Regions from separate parts of the Homo sapiens genome. Here regions 1, 2 and 4 are each linked to region 3. Evidence: promoter capture Hi-C in human tissues and cell types (Jung and others, 2019). All regions are on one chromosome and are shown on one strand. The core of a region is centred on a gene start or on the middle of the fragment in contact, and the rest is flanking DNA. Distances in the headings are between cores, read along the strand shown. Region 1 overlaps DENND4C (DENN domain containing 4C). Region 2 overlaps ACER2 (alkaline ceramidase 2). Region 3 holds the start of RPS6 (ribosomal protein S6). Region 4 overlaps DENND4C (DENN domain containing 4C).

Region 1 (4,073 bases), core at 1,442-3,941, 35 kb after region 3:
TGAAAACCAAAGTTACCAGAACTGTCTTAATAATCCTTCACATATTTTTAAAAAGATATACAAACATTCCATATCAGATAGACTACACAAAATAGACTACAGATAGACTATTCTATATTAGATAGACTATGCAAAATATAAAAACCAAAGTTACCAGAAATCAGCCAGGCATGGTGGCTCATGCCTGTAATCCCAGCACTTTGGGAGGCTGATGCAGTTGGATCACCTGAGGTGAGGAGTTCAAGACCAGCCTGGCCAACATGGTGAAACCTCATCTCTACTAAAAATACAAAAATTAGCTGGGCATGGTGGCACACCCCTATAGACCCAACTACTCAGGCAAGAGAATCGCTCAAAGCCGGGAGGCAGAGGTTGCAGACAGCCAAAATCATGCCACTGTACTCCAGCCTGGGCACAGAAATCTCTGAACAAGAATACATATATTTCTAGAAAGATACTATAAACACTCCAATAGCAGACAGACTACACACATAAAGCTTTCTTACCTCATCATCTGAGTAGCTGTAGGCAGACGCAACAGCTACCCACATCTTACTGGCTACTGTCGCTGCTTGTTTCATACCAGATTTCAGGACATCTATCTTGGGCCCTGAGAGTATATTATCCAGCTTTAGCCCTGACAAAGAATTTACTACAGAACCCAACGAGCCATGTGGCGAAGAACGCACCAGTGCTGACAAAGAAGTTGAACGTTCTTTATGAGTTCGAGAGGGGGTTTGCTGCTTGAAACGCCCAGTAAAAGTTTTAGACCTGGACACTGCAGGTGAGCTCTTTTCACTTTCAGGATTTTCCTGTGCTGGTGAACCATGATCTAAAGGTAGGCTTGATCTCCTCTCTAGAGCATGAATAAATGCAGTAGTCATGCCAGACTCTCTGTTTTCCTCTCTGTGTAATTCCATACTAGAAGATTTACTACCTAGGGGACTTTTTAGGTTCATATAGCTTTCTATTTCATCAGCCAGATTACGTGCAATAACTGGAGAAAACAACTTATCTTCAGAATCAGGAGTTTTTCCTCCTGTACATTCAGTGGCTAAAAGAGACAAAGGATCTAGTCCAGTTTCAACATCTTCCCTCTGAACCACCTTAGCAATACCATATAAACTACTTCTCTTATTCCTCAGATCTTTGGATACTGTTTTCAAGTCTCTGGACTGATTACTGTTACTATCACTTAGTAGACTCTCATATGTATCTACTGTTGCAGTAGTTTTAGGTACGTCATCAACCACAGGCTCAAGGAGTTCTTGGCTTTCCTCAAGCATCTCTGGCACCGGAGATGATCTGTGCTCAGGATTCCAAGTGCTTTCAGACATACAAGTCCTACTATCAGGTAGGTGACAGCTAACATTCTCAAAGCTATGGGTTCTTGCAATATGAAGTAGAGAAGTCTTAGGACATGTCAATGCTGCTGTGAGAATCTTGGCATCTGCTCCCATCATGATAGCCATTTCACTTGAATTCGAATCCAAACTACTCTTCTTAAGCAACATTCCTGCTCGACTTTCAGAACTAAAACTACAACTCCTCTCAGGAAAATGCTTTTGTCTTTTTTCTCCTCTATCACCATTCTTCTTGAGATTAGTAGCTTCGCCAAAGACTGCATCTTCAACTGGATCTTGAGTAGAAAACAGCACATTTGATATACTACCTAAAAGGGAAAGTAAAATATTAACAATGAACCTATTTTCCAAGTTAACTTTTATTAAAATATTTATTGTTTTCCTGATTATGAATGTGACATATACTCAGAATAAAAGATCCAGAAAATTTAGAGGCCATAAAGAAAGTATAAAAAAAAGTGCACTGGAAAAGCTATTTAAAACTTGCCTCCCAGGGACATTTTAATGTATAACCTGTCTTTCATCCTATATTTATATAAACACCCATTTAAAAAAACAAATCATGCAACATATGATAGATGGATATACCTGTGTTCTTCACTAAAATACAGAAAAAGAAAGAATCTCTTCCATCTTAGTTTTGTATCCAATTCAACAAATACTTGCCAGTAATCTACTCTGCAAAAAGCAAATTTGTAATCTTATAGGAATTGTATATTTGCTATACTCAAAGTCTTACTGCTGTAAAGTAAAATAATCCGGAATGGAATGCTTAGCACTGGCAAATTCTAAGAAGGCTGATAAAATCTGAGTGGTTAAAAAATTATTCAGATATATCCATTTCTTCAACAAATACTAAACGTCTACTAGTAGCCACTATATGAGGTGCTAGGAATATAAAGGCAAATAAAACAGACATAATCCTAGCCTTCACAGAAGTCAGTCTTATTTGATCAGGTAGAGAAAAAATATGCTAATGGCCATAGCAGCTTCCCCCAGCTTTGGAAAAAGAAAGCAGTCTTTTACTCTTGGCTACCATGCAATTTGTTTCACTCCAAGACCAAAAGCTGTTATTTCCTATTTGAATCATTATTAGAACTTAAGTCTACCTGTTATGGACTGAATGTTTGTGTCCGCCAAAATCCACATGCTAAAATCCTAACCCTCAGTGTGACAGTATTAGGAGGCAGGGCCTTTGAAAGATAATTTGATCATGAAAGTGGAACCCTGATGAATGGGATTAGAGCCCTTAAAGGAGAGCTCTCTCCTTCTCTGCTGTACGAGGATACAATAAGTTAGCACTCTGCAACCTGGAAGAGGGCCCTCTGCAGAACTCACCATGCTAACACCCTAACCCTGGACTTTCCAGCCCCTAGAACTATAAGAAATAAATTTCTTTCTTTTATTTTTTTTTAAGTTAGGGTTATGCCGGGCATGGTGGCTCACACCTGTAATCCCAGCACTTTGGGAGGCTGAGGCAGGCGGATCACCTGAGCTCAGGAGCTCGAGACCAGCCTGGGCAACATGGAGAAACCCTGTCTCCGCAAAAAAATACAAAAATTAGCCAGATGTGGTGGCATTCGCCTGTAGTCCCAGCTACTTGGGGGTCTGAGGCGGGAGAATCCTCAATTGCCTGAGCCCAGGAAGTTGAGGCTGCAGTGAGCCATGACTGTGCCACTACACTCCAGCCTAGGCGACAGAGTGAGAGTCTGTCTCAAAAACAAACAAACAAAGTTAGGGTCTTGCTCTGTCACCTAGGGTGGAGAGTACAGTGGTGCAATCATGGCTCACTACAGCCTCAATCTCCTGGCCTCAAGCGATCTTTCCCTCCAGCCTGCCAAATTGCTGGGATTACAGGCATGAGCCACTGAGCCCGGCAGAAATAAATTTCTGTTGTTTATAAGTCACCTAGTCTGTGGAACTGTATAGCAGCCTGAGTTATTCATATTTAGGATTCTCATTTGTGTTTTTCTTTTCCTTCGTTTTCTTTTTTATCCATTGCTTTTTACTGTAGTCACATCATTTGTTTTGTTAAAAAGCATAACAATATCTGGGTGCTTCAAGGAAAAAAGCTGTCTTAGATAAGATCTTTCTTTTAAACTTCAAGATTGATTTCAAGGTTCTTTTTAATCTTTCAAGTTAGTACTGATAATCATATCAATTAATCAGAATAAGCATTTAGAGATATTCTTTTAAGCCTTCACGGGAATTAAACTAACCTATTTTACAACTCAAAATATGTACCTGCTTTGAAAGCTGGTCCCAATATTTGAGAAACAAATCCTTGCAAATATTATTGGTTCTCATAGTATTTCCAAGGAATTTAACGGCACATTTTATTCAATGTTTTTTAAAAAAAATTTGCTATACTGACAAAAGCCCCATTATCCTCGCCCTTCGTTCTTAATATGAAAATAAGTTAAAAGGGAAGGAAACACAACAGTCCACAGACGATGTCCAGTTCAATATTTTGAGAGGATTCTAAGCCTCTGACGAAGAAAACTCTTCCCTCCTTTTCCCCAGTATCTCTGCTATCAAGAGGTTAGGAAAATGGAATCTGCAATGTATATATCAATTATTTTCTCAAAAAATCTTTAGCCCCACCTCTTGAGCACTACCCAAACAAGTAATGAGTGAAACTCGGAGTCACGGTAAATACAAAGAGAAAAGACTTTAAGAACAAGGAGTACTTTTACATTGGTTTAAGAA
Region 2 (4,097 bases), core at 48-2,547, 44 kb before region 3:
TGCACAGTAAAATATAAGTGTTCAAAAATATTTGCTGGATGAATACCTGTATAACCCTAACACAATGGCTATTAAAATGCATCCCTTCCTGAAATTCTGGGTTTCCAGTTTGAACATATATACAGTATATGAGTGTGTATGTGTGTGTGTGCACGCGCACGCACGCAGGTGCACAGCTCTCATCTGAAGCAAAAAAAAAGGCAACTTGAAAACTACAGTATCTGTAGCTCCAAGAACCAGTTCATCAGTCTGGATTCTACTTCATATGTATAAAACTGGTGGAGTTGGATTAGTCTCAAGGAAATGTTGTAGCAGAAAATCAAAGAGTATTGAATAAGCATTCAGTAATGTCACCCCCACTGAAGGTCTTTCCACTCTTGCTAATTCTTAAACCACTGGGTACAGAGAGGTGATGTACTTTGGGTACAGAGAGGTGATGCACTCTGCATTATTAAAATTCTCTCTTTAATCTGTCAGTTTACTTATATTGTCAGATCATAAAAACAATCAGTAGATATTGAACAAGTATATGATAAGCTCATCACTAGGCTGAGTTCAATCATGTGCTATTTTTCTTCATATATACATTGTTATATTGGGTACTGCACCTAGTGGTAAATGCAATAATGTTTAGTGCAAGCTTACCGGTCATTCCGAAAGATCTTTGGTAGATACCTTCTGGGGAACCACATGGCCAAAGCACACATCAGAACCCAAAGGACTGCAAGTTCATCAAGCATCTGACCCAAGAAACTAAGGGTTGCATGGAAGTAGACGGATCCAATTCCTAGAATCAATTACAACCAATAAAAAAAGGTCACCACAGAAGAGACACAAATTCAATACACTGCTTAAGGATAGTCCTTTCACCAATGGTTAACACAGTCACCAGATCACTCTCTCTCTGAAAAAAGAAACTGAAGAAAGAAACTCACACCACCCAAGCATGCATGCCTCCAGTCTAGAAAGAAGATTTCAACTAGGGCCCAAATATCAGCACATCAGAACTTTAACAATTCCACAGTTAAACGCATTCTGTCTTCATCCACTGAGCCTTTCTGGGAAGAGGCAGTAAATAAAAGTCAACATTCCTTCACTGTTAAGAATTCCCAGGCTGCCTGTGGGAGGAAATGGAAATGACACAAGTATTTCACAAAACAATGAGGGATCAAACATCTACATTTTTTTCTTTAATTTTAGTCCATTAGAAACCAGCCTCCCCAGAGTTCAGTTGTTTCACCTGACTTTCTTCAGACGTTCAGAAAATTGCACTGGCATAGCCCTAATAGCTACTACACAAATGAAGTCTCAAATGCACGCAAGTGACAGTAATGCCAACTTTGTTATCAAGCCTGCATTCAAGCAAGTGGGAAAAAAAAGTTTGCTAAGACCTCAGAGTGACTTCAGTTTACAAAACATTATGTTCAAAGGGGAGAGGAAGTGTGTGGAATTCCTTCTACCCCCATCCCACCACCCCATTAAGTCCGTGTTCCCAAATGACTCCACTTACCCACTACAACCAAAAGAGTCCAGATTAAGTAGATGCCACTGTTGAAGCATGTTGCATACTGACGAAACAAGCACATGCAGATGGGCGGTAAAATGAAAAATAAGACATTGCTGATCTGCAGGAAAAAAATGTAAAACAGAAAGATGAGTATTAAGTAAAAAGGGCAAAAAATAAAGTGGCCTCTTCCAAGTATGTCCTTGCAAACTGGGATAAATGTGGTCACACATCTCGTTTAAGCTCTTGCACTTTTTCTTTTTCTTTTCTCTTTGAGATGGAGTCTCACTCTGTCACCCAGGCTGGAAGGCTGAAATGCAGTGGTACGATCTTGGCTCACTGCAACCTCTACCTCCCGAGTTCAAGCAATTCCCCTGCCTCAGCCTCCTGAGTAGCTGGGATTACAGGCACCCACCACCATACCTGGCTCATCTTTGTATTTTTAGTAAGATGAGGTTTCACCATGTTGGCCGGGCTGGTCTCGGAACTCCCAACCTCAGGTGATCTGCCTGCTTCAGCCTCCCAACGTGCTGGGATTGCAGGCATAAGCCACCACACCCAGCCTCTGACACTTCTTTTGACTACAGATATACAATCAGGAGAACTTAAAGCTTTTTAAATGACCATTTAAGAGGCTCCCTGCTGCTTCTTTGATCATAGGAGTAGCTATAAAAACACTGCAGTCTATGGATGCTGCCCAAGCTCCTCTCTTATTCTTATTAACTAAGAATTAAATAAGAATTAACCAGTAATTCTTATTGCAAGGTTAATTATGAATCATTCTAATTTACTTGCACTTATTTTTTTCACAATCCTTTTTTAAGAGACATGGTCTAGCTATGTTTTCCAGGCTGGACTGAAGTGATCCTCCCACCACAGCCTCCCAAGTAGCTGGGACTAGGTACATGCCACCATGCCTGGCTCCATTTACTTTTTTTTTTTTTTTTTTTGAGACAGAGTTTCTTTCTTACAGCCCAGGCTGGAGTTCTTTGGTGCAGTCTCAGCTCACTGCAACTTCTGCCTCCCAGGTTCAAGCGATTCTCCTGCCTCAGCCTCCCGAGTAGTTGGGATTACAGGCGCTCACCACCACACCCAGCTAATTTTTGTATTTTTAGTAGAGACGGGGTTTCACCATGTTGGCCAGGCTGGTCTCAAACTCCTGACCTCAGGTGATCCACTCGTCTCAGGCCTCCCAAAGTTCTGGGATTATAGGCATGAGCCACTGCGCCCGCCTGCTTTTGTGTTTTTAAAGATAAGGTCTGTATTAAATAATGGTTAAAAAAAAAAAAAAGTTTAATGAAGGCGTAAAAAAGACTGGACATTGTCCAGCTCCCAATAATCCTCCCCAGCCAAGCCAGCCTTTTCCCCTGTGCCTACACAAAGCGAGGACTCTTTCTAGTTTCCCCCTTCGTTGCCCTTTGTCAGCTTTCCCATCCTAACCAAAACCTATTTTTAAGTAAAGATTATATTTGAAAGTTTCTTCCCAGCTTTAAAATGATATTATTTTATCTTGCAGATTTTGGTATGGATTTAAGCCTCTCTGTTATGTCTCCATGGGCATTCAACTTTTTAAAAATTTTAATAATCTATCTTATTTAATGCAATGTATTCAAAATATTGTCATTTGAACATGTAATCACTATTAAATATCATTAATGAGATAGTTTACTTTTTTTTTTTCTTAGAGACAGGGTATTACTCTGTCAACCAGGCTAGAGTGTAGTGGTGGGACCAGCTTGCTGCAGCCTCCTACTTCCAGGCTTAAGGGAGCCTCCTGCCTCAGCCTCTTGAATAGCTAGGATTACAGGCATGCACCACCATGCCTGGCTTTATTTATTATTATAATTTTTTTTTTTTTTTGGTAGAGATGGTGGTCTCACTATGTTGCCCAGGCTGATCTCACACTGCTGGCCTCAAGCAATCCTCCTGCCTCAGCCTCCCAAAATGCTGGGATTATAGGCATGAGTCACCGCGTCCAGCCTAGTTTACATTATTTTGTTCATACCAAAGCCTTGAAGATCAGTGTAAATTTCACACTCACAACAAGCCTCAGTTTGGGCTAGGCACATTTCCTGTGCTCAACAGCCAACTAAATGTGGCCAGTGACTGTCATATTGGAAACTCATCCCTAATTTTTTTAACTTACTTTTTGTTTGGTTGATTTTGGGGTTTGTTTGTTTCACAGACTCAAAGCTTTTTTTTTCTGAACTTTAAAAAATTGAGGTAAAATTCACATACCATAAAACTAACCATTTTAAAGTGTACAATTCAGTGGCATTTAGTACATTTCATAATGGGCAACCATCACCTCTATCTAGTTCCAAAATGTTTTCATCACCCCAAAAAGAAACACTATTCTCATTAAGCAGTCACTCCTCATTTCTCCCTCCCTCAGCCCCTGGCATTCACCAATCTGCCTTTTGTCTTTATGATTTTATCTATTCTAAATATTTCACATAACATAAATGGAATCATACAATATATGTCCTTTTGTATCTAGCTTATTTTTTCATTTAGCATAATGTTTTTAAGGTTCATCCATATTACAGCATATACCAGTAACTTATTCTTTTTTATGGTTGGATAACATTCC
Region 3 (3,676 bases), core at 756-3,255:
GATACATTTTGTGTTATATGTTTTTTACCCACAATTAAAAACGCATTAAAATTTTTTTTTAAATGAGACAGGGTGACACTATGTTTGCCCAGGCTGATCTCAAACTCCTGGCCTCAAGAGATCCTCCCATCTCAGCGTCCTAAAGCGTCTGGATTACTGGTGTGAGCCACTGCATTTGGCCACCCTAAAATATTTTTAAAAGGAAAAACAAACAAAAAAAACTAGCCCATAGTTCTAGACTTTCTCTTTGCCTCACATTAATTTACTCCCACTACTTCAATAAAAATAACAGGGGGAGCTAAGAGCTTGTACAGACTTTTCTCTAAAGAAGATATACAAATGGCCAACAAACACATTAAAACATGCTCAACATCATTAGTCATTAGGGAAATGCAAATCAAAACCACAATGAGTCTCAGCTACTCCAGAGGCTGAGACAGGAGGATGCTGGAGGCCAAGAGTTCCAGACCAACAGGATCTCACTTTGAGCAACAAAGCGAGACCCTGTCCCTACAATAAATTTTTAAAAAATTAAAAAAATAACAAGTGTTGGCCATGATTTTGATAAAGTGCGGTCCTCATACATTGCCGGTGGGAATGTAAAATGGTTCAGCTGCTTTGGAATACAGTTTCAGTTTCTCCCTGAGTTGAGAATAGAACTACTATATGACCCAGCAATTTCACTCTTAGGTATATACCTAAAATAATTTAAAACAAGTACTCAAACATAGAAGAACTATTTACAGTAGTTAAAAGGCAGAAACAACCCAAATGTCTATTTATGGAGGAATGGATAAACAAACTGCAGTCTATATCTACACTAGAATATTGAGCCATAAAAGCAGTGAAGTACTGATACATGCTACGACTCAAAAGATTAGAAGACAGATACAAAAGGTCAATATTGTATGATTCCATTTTTATGAAGTAGGTACATCCACTGAGACAGAACACAGATTGGTGGTTGCCAGGCCTGGTCGAAATGGGGAAGGGGCAGCAACTGCTTTAACAGGGTACAGGGTTTTCTTTTAGGATGATGAAAATGTTTTGGAACTGTATCGATAGAGATGGTGGTTGTACAGCATTGTGAATGTACTAAATGCCACTGAATTGTTCACTTTAAAATGACTAGTTATGTCAATTTCACCTCAACAAAAAAATGACACACAGTACTCAGATTTTAAAAAGCATCATTTCACCAAGATTCCATGAATTAATGTGAGATGATCAAAGAGGATTCAGTAGAATCGTTCAACTTCGAATGTAAAACAGTCCTAAACTCAAACCTTTGTGACACTAAAGTGGGGAGATGGTATGTGATAGTTTTAGATAGTAAAAATTATTCTTGTTTACTTGGTCTCGAACTCGAACTTTTTTGAGGCGGAGTCTCTCTCTGTCGCCTGGGCTGCAGTGCAGTGGTGCGATCTGGACTCATTGCAACCTCCGCCTCTTGGGCTCAAGCGATTGTCGTGCCTCAGCCTCCCTAGTAACTGGGACTACAGTCGCCCCCCACCACGCCTGGCTATTTTACCTATTTTTGGCTATTTTACCTATTTTTATTAGAGACGGAGTTTCGCCATGTTGGCCAGGCTGGTCTCGAACTCCTGACCTAAGATGATCCGCCCGCCTCGGCCTCCCAAAGTGCTGGGATTACAGGCGTGAGCCACCGCGCCCGGCCTTGCCCTCCTATTTTGGTACCGTCAGATGCAAAGTGCCTGGGACAGAAGTGGGGCTCCGCTGGCGCCCAGCTCCAAAACCCAGGCAGCGTGGAAAAGACTAGACAGGGAAGGGGTTAGCCCTCAGAATTACACGCGGGTTTGCCTTACCAGACTACCACCACTGGCACAACCTCAGACCCACACCCAACCGACTTTACCTCCCAGGCCCTGATTAATCTCGCCCGGAAGTACCGCCCACCCATGCTCACTTCCGCTATCCCGTACTTCTGCTCATCTCGCGAGAACTGAAAGCGCCTATGTGACCTGCGCTAAGCGGAAGTTGGCCCTCTTTTCCGTGGCGCCTCGGAGGCGTTCAGCTGCTTCAAGATGAAGGTAGGTGATGGTGGCGAGTGTTAGACTGGGTTTGGGGAACGTGAATCGAGTCCCAGAACGCGGCATTGCCTCAGTTCCAGCACTCCAGGATCCTGGCTTTAGGTGGAGAAGGGTCTCAAGTAGGAGAAGGCTCGCCTTTCTGGGGCATGGAGCTTTTTGGCCGAACGGATGGCAGGCGATTGCGGCTGGAGCCGCGGCGGGCCGGGAGCGCCATGGTGGCGTCCCCGCGCCCAGCCGGGACGGATGCGGCGTGTTGCCCAGTTTGCGGCAGGCCTGTGGTGCGGCTCTTGACCCCGGCTTTCTTGCTTCGGGAGGGTGAACGGCTGCGGAGTGCCCTCGCCCCCAGAGTCATTCCGCGGGGCTTGAGGGGAAAACGTCCTGCTGAGTGCGGCGCTTCTTGACTGCTACTCTGCTTTCACGTGCTTTTAGTGAGTACAGTCGGCATCTTATATTTCCTGCTTGTGTGGAGGCAACATGAAAGGCTTTTTGCAGTGGAATTAACTTTGTAGATGGCTCTACAATTACCTGTATAGATAGTTTCGTAAACTATTTCCCCCCTTTTAATCCTTAGCTGAACATCTCCTTCCCAGCCACTGGCTGCCAGAAACTCATTGAAGTGGACGATGAACGCAAACTTCGTACTTTCTATGAGAAGCGTATGGCCACAGAAGTTGCTGCTGACGCTCTGGGTGAAGAATGGAAGGTAAAAGTTGACAAATTGTTGCAGGTATTTAAGTCAGAGACGGTAAACGCCATTGGTAACTGGTATTTGGAATGGGGTTCAGACTCCGGGTTCTGGCTTCTGACCTTTGGTAAGTTGCTTCCGAATGCCACTTTATAAAGTTAGAGGTATTACCTTGGAGGGGGGGACGTAGAGTAAGCCATAAAATATACGTAAAGTTTACATCAACATAATTCTTGCCCTGCATCATGCATTTGGCAATATGTCACATAGCTGTCCTCATAATCCCCAAAGTGCCAAAAAGGGTTGTATCTGATTTGTTTGTTGCTGTTTGATATTTTATCTTCTTAGTGCTGTTATCTCTAATAAAACATCGGTTAGAAATGCGACTTGAAAGACATTTGATAATTGAACTTGACAAGTTGGGAATATAGACAAAACTCACTGAACAGAGAAAACGTGCTTAAGTTCAAATTGGTTTTCATAATTATACTTTCTCATATAGGTGTGTTCACAGAGGTCACAATCCTGTACTGTATAATTTTGGAATAGAAATAGTAAATGTGTCATTCATTGTATGCTCTTGCAGGGTTATGTGGTCCGAATCAGTGGTGGGAACGACAAACAAGGTTTCCCCATGAAGCAGGGTGTCTTGACCCATGGCCGTGTCCGCCTGCTACTGAGTAAGGGGCATTCCTGTTACAGACCAAGGAGAACTGGAGAAAGAAAGAGAAAATCAGTTCGTGGTTGCATTGTGGATGCAAATCTGAGCGTTCTCAACTTGGTTATTGTAAAAAAAGGTGAGGGTTACTTGTGTTCAATTTTCGTTGAAATTGATTTAAAGCCAGTTGTCCAAATGCTTATTCATTTGCAGTATCCAGACTTACAGACCAATGGATTTGTTTCTCTACCATCAATTCAACATTAAACATTCTGATTTAGG
Region 4 (3,852 bases), core at 1,281-3,780, 56 kb after region 3:
AAAGCAGAAAAGAATTCTATAGTTAACATGAAATCAAAATAGTATTTAATCAAGCCATTCAATCCCAGATACATTCCTCATTCTGATCCAGTCCTCTTGATATTATACATTAATTCTCTATTTTGGGATGTACTTACTTTACTTTCTATTTTAGAAATTCTTTTAGAAATGCAGCCTAAGAAAATAACAAAGATATAGATAGCAAAGAACTACAAACAAATCCATGAGGCTAGTTAAATAAATCATAATAAATGCATACAATGTGGTCATTACAAATGATAAGGCACAAAAATATTTAATGGCATGGGAAAATGTTCAGACCACTAAAGGCAAACATAGATTACAAAGAGAATCTACCTGATGAACTCATACATGCAATACATACACACACACATCCACATGATACATACATACCTACAATTGTTAAGAGACACAAGTATTGGTGCTAGAATGATGTATTAGTTTTCCATTTTGGTTTGATTTTCTAAGTTTATTAAATTTATAGCAATAAAAAAACTACAAAATCCATTCTAATTTCTTAAAAGAGTCACATCCAAATCCTATCCTTTATCTTAATAAAGAATAAATTCCTGGCCCTCTACCTTAAGTTTTCTTGGTAAATTACTAATTCATAAGAATTTCACAGTCTTTGTTTCAAAATGAAACTCCCAAAGGGAGCAGGGAGCCTCATAAAAGTATCATTTTTCTTCTTCAGAATTGAAACTTTTAAAGATTAAAATACAAACACTAAGGTAAACAATGATCAACATCTGACAATACCATCCAATTCTTAAATTATAACACCTAGTGGCATTTCCATAAAATATTTATCTACATTAGTTCACTGAACTAATACTGAAAATGAGTTTCACAAAAGACTAATATACATATCTACTAATAAAAATTAAAAGAAACTGATAGGCTGTGCCATTAAGCTCTTTTAAAACTTCCTACTACCTGTACTTTGGTGACAGGTCCTTTCCATCATCAGGAGGTGGCTCTGGCGGCATTATAAATACAGTATGCTCACTTTTCTGTGAATCATCTAGTTCTATCAATCTGGTATCTTCTGCTGAATCAAAATCAACCTGAAAATCATTATTTTTCCCCAATTAATTTGCATACAAACAAGATCTAATTCTGAAATTTCAACCCTTAAAATCTAAGAAAAACATACCTTATCTGTTTTCTCTGTGCCTTTATCAGGAAACAACTAGAAAAAAAGAAAACAGATTCTTAATGAAAATGTCCACTATGAATTTAATAGACATTTTTATCTTACATTCTGATTTAGAAAAAAACTACCCCTTTTCAGTACCAGCTGATACAAAACATGCACAGTATATTTTTAGGCTGAATACATACTCTTAGGCTAAAGCATAATTTTTTACTTGTGGCTATTAGGATAGAAAACTATTTTGATTAGTTGTTTTGTAAACCTTAAGACAAAAGATGACCAATCACAAGGTTATCTGGCTTCTCAAATAAAAAATTTCATTATTATTAAGCCCCTTTATTAGTGATTGACATTAAACTTCTCATATAACTGGAAGATACTGGAATATCAATTTTGTAAATAAACAAAAATGTTGAATAGTTTTAATTATATCCCTGGAATTTTGGATCACACTGATAGGAGAAAATTATTTAAATCTTCTAAGGCATATGAATCATGAGGGGGCCATAAAAATTAATGTCATAATATTCAACTTTTTTTGGATACAATCTCAAATGTTATATAATATACAGTTTGCATAAACAATTGGCCCCAAGATCTACTTAGCAAAAATAAGAATTATATTAAAAGTTAGGAAAAATTATAACTAAGTCAAGAATCAATTTTAACTTCCTTAGGATGGGTGGGTAAAGCTTTAAAATTTAACGTATTTCCACCCTCCATTAGAACAAAAGAAACATATTAGGCAAAAGAATCTGGAAAGACATTAAAACAAAAGAACATAGAACTTCTATTACCCATAAAACTAAACATTTTTTAATTAAAAAACCTAAATCTTAAACTAAATCTTATTCATTTAAATTAAAAAAATATAAACTCACAAGGCTCAAGAAAATGTTCTTAGTTTTACAACTCAATAGTTGTAAAACGAAAGTGAGATTTAAAGAGAAAATTTACTGGCTGGGCATGGCGGCTCATCCTGCAATCCCAAGGATTTGGGAGGCCAAGGCGGGAGGATCACTTGAGCCCAGGAGTTTGAGACCAGCCTGGGCAATACAGTGAGACCTCATCTCTACCAAAAATTAAAAAAACTAGCTGGGCGTAGCACATGCCTGTAGTCCCAGCTACTCAGAAGGCTAAGGTGGTAAAATCACTTCAGGCAAGAAGTTCAAAGTTGCAATGAGCTATGATCATGCCACTGCACCCTAGCCTGGGTAACAGAATGAGATGCTGTTTCAATCAATGGATCAATGAATAAAGAATAGAAAAATTGGCTATATGTGGTAGAAACTTGAAACCACAAAGAATTTTATTCATATATTCAGCCCAGAATCGGTAACACATACACACACATACACAACCCTACTCTGTTTTCCTTATATCACTCTAGACTAACAATAACAATGATAATTACACAGGTAAGGCAAACTTTTTTTTCTAAACACTAGTATAAGTACAAACTTTTACCTTTTCTATGCAGTCATCAAAAAATGCTAATCCAGTATCTTTATCACTTACAAAACTGCATTCTTCAATGAAACGAATAAAAATCTGTGTTTTGGATAAAAGGGTATAGAATTTTGCATAGGCACGATCTCGACTTTTTAAAAATCCTGAGGAAAACAAAATATAATTAAATTCAAATTTTAAACTGGAATTCGATATTATAGGAAACATTAAACTTGTACTTATCTATATTACATTCTCTTTATATATACATATATATATCCATATTTAAAAAGAAGCTTCTATAGGTTGAGTATCTCTTATCTGAAATGCTTGGGACCAAAAGTGTTTCAGATTTCGGATTTTTTTTTTTAAGATTTTGAAATATTTGCATGTGCACAATCACATATCTTGGGGATGAGACCCAAGTAAACAGGAAATTCATTTATGTTTCACATATACATTATACACACAGTCTGAAGGGAATGTTATACAATATTTTCAATGATCTTGTGCATGAAACAAAGTGTGTGTTAAGTACTTACGTGTAGAATTTTCCACTTGTGGCATAATGTCAGCCCTCAGAAAGTTTCAGATTCTGCAGCATCTCAGGTTTTGGATTTTTAGATTAGGGAAGCTCAACCTGTGGTAACTGCATATATAGCTCCTTCTGCCTAATTAAACCACGAAAAATACTTCTATCAAACTCTTCACTGAAATCTAAATCCCCTATAAGGAACCTCCAGCTCTACAACTTTTAAGTAGAAATTTCTCTGATACTCTGCATACTCTTGAGTCCATGGTCAATTTCCAAAGAGTCAATGTCCTTCCTCTTTAATGTTGCAAGACCATTATTTCTGTATTGTGTTTTTAAAATTTCTGCTCATTAAAGTTTCAAGCATCTGACTATTCCACAATTTCCTCTATTAATCGTAGACATCTATTGATTTCAGGGACACTCCTTCATTCACTGAAGACCAAGGCATCTGATTCAAGGTCTCCTCCTTTCTAATTCCTACCACCATCATTCTTCCACACCCAGAAGCACAAACCATGAAAACACTTTAGATTCTTCTTCATTCCTTTTTTTTTTTTTTTCCAGACAGAGTCTAGCTCTGTCGCCCAGGCTGGAGTGCAGTAATGTGATCTTGGCTCACTGCAACCTCTGCCTCCCAGGTTTAAGTGATTCTCCTGCCTCAGCCTCCTGAGTAGCTGGGATTACAGGTGCC

Evidence for each region. Contacts are between HindIII fragments. The study calls those that stand out against the background at their distance.
Region 1: a contact is called between a fragment that was not itself captured here and the fragment with the promoter of RPS6 in region 3, in 2 of the 25 tissues and cell types used here (lymphoblastoid cells and mesenchymal stem cells).
Region 2: a fragment that was not itself captured here is called in contact with the fragment with the promoter of RPS6 in region 3 in 1 of the 25 tissues and cell types used here (dorsolateral prefrontal cortex).
Region 4: a contact is called between a fragment that was not itself captured here and the fragment with the promoter of RPS6 in region 3, in 1 of the 25 tissues and cell types used here (thymus).

The regions. Positions count from the first base shown.
Region 1 is chr9:19,343,520-19,347,592 of GRCh38, reverse strand. DENND4C (DENN domain containing 4C) reads right to left here. Exons shown (of 33, transcript NM_001330640.2): 23 at 507-1,672. Among named protein-coding and RNA genes, the nearest start is that of RPS6, 35 kb to the left of the region's middle. The HindIII fragment of the contact is 5,809 bases long and covers 1-4,073 here.
Region 2 is chr9:19,421,390-19,425,486 of GRCh38, reverse strand. It overlaps ACER2 (alkaline ceramidase 2), which reads right to left. Exons shown (of 6, transcript NM_001010887.3): 2 at 1,511-1,625; 3 at 646-787. Among named protein-coding and RNA genes, the nearest start is that of ACER2, 14 kb to the right of the region's middle. The HindIII fragment of the contact is 3,219 bases long and covers 1-2,906 here.
Region 3 is chr9:19,378,565-19,382,240 of GRCh38, reverse strand. It overlaps RPS6 (ribosomal protein S6), which reads left to right and starts at 2,005. Exons shown (of 6, transcript NM_001010.3): 1 at 2,005-2,051; 2 at 2,623-2,754; 3 at 3,323-3,533. The coding sequence starts at 2,046. RefSeq lists an enhancer at 1,491-2,690. The HindIII fragment of the contact is 6,896 bases long and covers 1-3,676 here.
Region 4 is chr9:19,323,300-19,327,151 of GRCh38, reverse strand. It overlaps DENND4C (DENN domain containing 4C), which reads right to left. Exons shown (of 33, transcript NM_001330640.2): 13 at 2,645-2,790; 14 at 1,178-1,213; 15 at 958-1,088. Among named protein-coding and RNA genes, the nearest start is that of RPS6, 55 kb to the left of the region's middle. The HindIII fragment of the contact is 4,100 bases long and covers 481-3,852 here.